Linked DNA regions of Homo sapiens: region 1 is linked to region 2. Evidence: promoter capture Hi-C in 16 types of primary human blood cells and fetal thymus (Javierre and others, 2016). All regions are on one chromosome and are shown on one strand. Each heading gives the region's core, a stretch centred on a gene start or on the middle of the fragment in contact. The rest is flanking DNA. Distances are from core to core; before and after follow the strand shown.

The links. The method cuts DNA at HindIII sites, captures the fragments that hold promoters and counts their contacts. A CHiCAGO score of 5 or more calls a contact.
Region 1: the fragment with the promoter of ZNF544 here is called in contact with the fragment with the promoter of SLC27A5 in region 2 in 1 of 17 cell types (total CD4 T cells); the score reaches 8.1 in total CD4 T cells.

The regions. Positions count from the first base shown.
Region 1 is chr19:58,227,541-58,230,240 of GRCh38, forward strand. It overlaps ZNF544 (zinc finger protein 544), which reads left to right and starts at 1,374. Exons shown (of 7, transcript NM_014480.4): 1 at 1,374-1,406; 2 at 1,928-2,030. RefSeq lists an enhancer at 1,250-2,076. The HindIII fragment of the contact is 1,767 bases long and covers 272-2,038 here.
Region 2 is chr19:58,510,712-58,513,411 of GRCh38, forward strand. SLC27A5 (solute carrier family 27 member 5) reads right to left here and starts at 1,281. Exons shown (of 10, transcript NM_012254.3): 1 at 557-1,281; 2 at 10-219. The coding sequence starts at 1,244. It overlaps LOC105372485 (a long non-coding RNA gene), which reads left to right. Exons shown (of 2, transcript XR_001754024.2): 2 at 1-412. RefSeq lists an enhancer at 984-1,498. The HindIII fragment of the contact is 7,866 bases long and covers 1-2,700 here.

The DNA of each region.
Region 1 (2,700 bases), core at 124-2,623, 280 kb before region 2:
AAAAAATTAGCCGGGCGTGGTGGCGGGCGCCTGTAGTCCCAGCTACTCGGGAGGCTGAGGCAGGAGAAAGGCGTGAACCCGGAAGGCGGAGAGTGCCGTGGGCCTAGATCGTACCACTGCACTCCAGCCTGGTGGACAGAGCGAGACTCCGTCTCACAAAAAAAAAAAAAAAAAAAAAAAAAAAAAAAGACTGAGGGAACCTTCCCAGGAAACCCCTAGCAGCCTTATTTCTCCTTGGCCAGAATATCCTTGCCTAATTCACACAGCAAGAAGCTTGAGTCCATTCTGATTAGCTTAGAATCCATCAAGATCCTCCCTTAGGGAGTTAGATTCTAGATTTCCCGGAAGAATCTAAAAATTGCAGGGTCGTGCTAGCCAGGTATGAAAATAAGCAAGTAAAAAGATGATGACTGTTGGGTAAAGCTATCGACAAGGTCAGCTACAAAACAGTCAAGCCAAGGAAGGCTAGTCACAGATGCACCCCAGACACAAAAGCACAGTCCAGGAGCTGAGGGTGCCTGAGCCACAGTGGTTCCCGCCTACCTGGCCTTCGTAGGAAAGTTTCCTGTGGTCTCCCTCATTGAAGAGCCAGGACGGGTCAGGCGGTGGTGGGTCTCAGACATTGAGCCCCACAACGCACTGAGACTGAACATCAGACCATTTATAATAACAGAACTCTGTCCCACAACTTCTGCAGCAATAGGTACAAAACAGAACTTGGTCACTGCCAGCCTCCCTATTTTTTTCCCTGTCCCACTTAGGAGCTACCACAGAAAGCCAAATAGGCTCGACTGAGCGATCACCTAGGACGAATCGCCTCCAGTTAGCGTGCTTCCACCTTCCACTCGGAATGCTCCAAGCAGGGCACTCCCGGGGCTTTGTTTCTATCACTAGGACGCGTCCCCACGCCCAGGCTGTCCCTGAGTCCCTGCCACAGGCGCAGATGTTGGCGGGCGCCCTTGCCCCTGAGCTCCCGGTTAACGGCCTTGGACTGTTCTCATGGCTCAGTCTTGGTCTCTCTCCCCAGCAGGGCAAGGCGCCGGGAAGGCACCCGAGATGACAGCGCCGAGCCCCATAGGCGCTAGTCCCGCCCTGGACGCCGACCGCCGCCTCCACAGTCTCGGCTTCGGTTGCTGGATGAGAACCAGCGTGGCCCGTTTAAGGGGGAGGGGACAGGCGCTGCAAGGAGCAGAGCCGCGGGAAGCAACTCCCTAAGCCACAATGCTAGTCGCGAACACAGGAAAAAGCTCATCCCGCCGCCGCGGGGCCCCATGCTCCCGCCGGCAATGACTATGCCTGTGGGAGCAACGGCTACCGGCGCGCGGCCTTCTGGGAGTTGTTTGTTGCGCGGAGCGCGGGCACGTCCGCCGGCCACCGGAAGCACCGCCATTGGCCGGTGCGTGCAGGTGAGTCTGGCGGCCTCAAGGTTGGCTCGGAGGTTTCACTGTTAGCCGGGTGCGGCCGGAGCGCAGGACCAGGCCAGAGCCGCCCCAAGTGATCTGGGCGTGCCGGAGAAACGAGCAGGGCCTGCGGGGGTCCCTCATGCGGCGAGGCCGAGCAAGGGCAGGGGCCTGATGGGATCGGGATCTCTCCGGCCTCAGGGACGGGGAAGGCCGGTCCAGTCAGGTTTCCCCTGCAGGAGCGCCCGGCTGGGTCTGAGCTTGTCGGGAGGCTCTCCTGCTGCAGAGCTGGGAGGGAACTTATAGTACCTCGCAGGTACGGGCAGGGGTGGAACTGGGTGGGACTGGGTGGGACTGGGTGGGACTGGGTGGGACTGGGTGGGCCCTCCCGACAGAGGGTGCCTGGGTCGAGGGCTGCAGGGGCGGGGGATTCAGGCTGGCGTCTGGAGCTCTGGGGCTGCCGACCCAGCGGGCCTCTCCCGGCTCCTTTTTCCTCCCTCAACTCATCTTCTGCGGCTTATCCACAGGTGGCAGCCAAGAGCCTCCTGGCACAGCGGCACCAGGCAGGTGACGCCTATTGGACCCCAGAGGTCATCCCAGCTCCAGACGTGGACACATTTTCTTCCAATGGTACGTGAAGCTTGAACCTTGCAGAGAACATGTGTATTTTCCAAGTGAACAGAAGATTAAGGCCAGTCCACGCAGGGCAGGGGTAACTGGGGTGTTGGGGGCCTGCACTGGTTAAGCGATGCTGGTGCACCCCATAGAGAGACTACAGAGGTGAACAGGATGGGATGTGTATGTAACGCCTGTAAGTTAGGGATCGGGGTTCCATTTGTGTTGGGTGATATTTGATGGGGACCGTACAAGGCAGTGCTAATGAGGAAGGCATGGGGTTGGATTTCAAGAGTCTAAGGGAGTAGGGAAACATCTGATTGTGGAAATGACTCCGTGTAAGGAGGGATGCCAAAAGACAGGAAGGAGTGGAGGAAGACTGTGTTTCTGTTTCCAGCGTGGAGCCAGGGTAGAAGTCACAGTGCAAGGAAGATGTGGTATGCCTGGTCAGTCTCTGCATGGGAGTTGAGGAGCATGTGGGTGACATGGCTGAATGTGGAGGAGGGAATGGCAGTGGCAGGAAGCCCAGGAGGTTTGGGCTGGACACGTAACCTGGAGCAGATTGGAAACGTCACCCCACAAGCAGGGAAGGAGAAAACTGGAAAAGGAAAGAGAAAGCAACTCCCTCCCCAGCCCTGCAGCCAGAGGGACTTCTGCCAGATCAGCCACCATACAGGTCCAGTAT
Region 2 (2,700 bases), core at 31-2,530:
CACCCTCACCAGTGGTCCCCGAGGTATAGATGAAGAGGGCAGGGCTTCTCCATGTGATCCCAGCACGCAGGTCAGCAGGCACTGGGTGGGAGGGCGCTGCATCCAGGGCAGCCCCCAGAGCCCCCACCCCTGGTGTAGGGGAGGTATGGCTGAGGTAGAAGCAGCGGATGTTCTCAGCCTGCAGCTTGGGAAGGATCTCCTCCAGGCTCTCCCGGAGGTCTGCAGAGATGGGTCAGAGGAGAAACAGAGGCAAGGCTCACCTTTGAGGTTGCGAGGCGGGATCTGAGACCCACAGATGCAGGCAGAGGAGCAGCTAGTAGAGAAAAGCATCCATGTTGTTTGGTAAAGAATCCCATCATTAGTATTTTTGGTCAAATTGTGGGAAAATTAAACTCTGATGACCTGAGAACTACTTTCTGCTCATAAGTCTTGATTATAATTGCCTGTGAAAGTAGGCAGGTGGGGACCAAGGGCCTCTGCCAGTCCCAGCAGAACCCCTGTCCTATAGTCCCTGCCCTTGCCCCCTTCCATTCTCCACTGGCTCCAAGGCCCTCACCTGGGTCCACCACCAGCACCCGGGCCCCAGAGCTCAGCACAGAGTGCGCCAGGGGCATCCCCCGGCCATGCGGGTTGATCCAGGCTGTTGGGCAGCCCAGCTTGGCCAGCCCCAGCCACATACACAGGGCTGGAACGGCCTGGGAAGCCAGCACAAGGAGGGCAGTAGGCTCCCCGGCACACAGGCTCGCAGGGTCACCCAGCTCAGCCTTCAGGGCCCATGCCGCCTGGCAGGCCCGGGCATCCAGCTCACCAAAGGTGACTGAGCCGGCCCCAGGCCCCGTCCACACCAAGAGTGCCCTGCCAGGCTGCGCTCGTGCTCGCCGCTCGAAGGCATCTACAAAGGTGTCAGGCGGCTGCCGGCTCAAGCATCCCCTGATCTTCAGGCCCAGGTGGAGGATCTTGGCCAAGAAGATCACATCAGCCGGCAGCCAGCGTAGTCCTGGGGGCAGCCGTGCTGGCAGGAGGGTTAGTGCCAGGGCCGCAGCTGCCAGGCTCAGCCCATGGGGCACCCAGGGGCCGAGCCAGGGCCGTGCTAACATGGCCAGCCCAAGTAGCACGCAACATGTGGGATCCCCCAGGAGCCAGCGCAGGGTCAAGGCCACAGCGACTGGCCACACTGGCTGCCCCAGGCCCCAGAGCAGGAGCAGCAGCAGCAGCAGCAAGGCCAACTGTTGCCTGACACCCATGGTACCAGCTCCTCCCTAGGAGCAGCAGCTGTGGAGTGTTCAGGCTCACCTCTGGCCCCTCAAGAGTAGCCCAATGGCTCCTCCCCAGGGGTGGTGGCCCTGGCACTGCTGACAGTGGCTGGTCCTCTCCCCAGGACTTTGCCCCCAGCCCTTCTCCTCTACGTTTGTTTGCTCTGCCTGGTCTTGTGTGTGGGTCCAGCCCCTCTCTGCCTGGCGCTAACCCTTTCCATCACTGGCCTCTGGGTTCCCAGGTCTCTGCCCCTTGGGCACCACTAGCCTCCTTCCTGCTGTCCTGCTTGCCCCATCCACCCTCCAGGGCTGGCATCTAACTCCCTTGCCTCCCCTCCCATCCCTGCTGGGTACCAGACACTCAGAGCACAGAAATCCCTGCCCTTGGGAACACTCCAATCAGGCCAAACAGAAAAGCAACAGGACAGCAAGGTGGACCTCATTGGGAGGTCCTCCTGTGACACCCACTGAAACCCTGAGGAGAGGGGCTCAGCCAGGCTAAGCCCCTTGTCCCATGATCCGAGGAATCGTACCCTCCTGCCAGGCATACAGCAAGTGCTCAGTAAATACAGGAACACTGGCATCGCCTGGATTCAAACCCAGCTCTGCCCCCCACCCATGTGCTTGCTCTGACTCTCTGCTCCACCTCTGGCTTTGACGACGATGGAGTCCTGGGGTTCAGGAGACTGAAGTCAGCCCATGATGCACACAGTTGGATCATGAAAGCCCTGGCCTCTCACCTTGAGGAAGCAGTCTCAGAAGGTGAACCCAGAGGAGCTGCCATTGGCCTAGGAGCCTGGCAGGTCAGGCTGGGGTATGGCCTGGGGCCATACCCCACTCCACCAGCTCCAAATCCTTATGGCAGGGCACCTAGGCTAGGAGCCACTATTGTGCTGAAGAGGAGAGGGGCAAAGAGTGGCTGCTCTCTCCGCTGGATGCAGGGGCCTGGGACACTGGCTGGCCAGTAGGGGTGGTGTCCCCAACCGCCCAGCAGTCAGCCCCAGGATCCCACCCCTCACTGTTTCCTGCCCCCAACACGGCCATCGGAGCCCTCCCTGAACTTTGCCCCCAGCACCAAGGGCAGATATATGGGGGCTTATATACCCTCAGTGCAACCTGGCCCCAAAGATCCCCCTGGGCTCCCCACAAGTAAGGTGCTCAGCCATGTCCATCAAGGTCGGGGAGGGGAAGTCTTAAGTCCAAAAGACCCTTAGAGCCTGACTGGAAGATCTATGGGAGGGGCCTTAAAGGTCGTGGACAGCAGCAACCAGGAGTATGATGGGGCTTTCACGTGGCCTCCCTCTCGGAGACCCACCTCAGATGTGGCCTGCCTATCCTACTCCCCACAGGACTGAGGGATCCAAGAGAACCAAGTGCTGGTTATATATGCAGCCCACCTTAGCCCCTACAGAATAGAGGTCCTAGATGGCAAAGTGGACCATCCTGT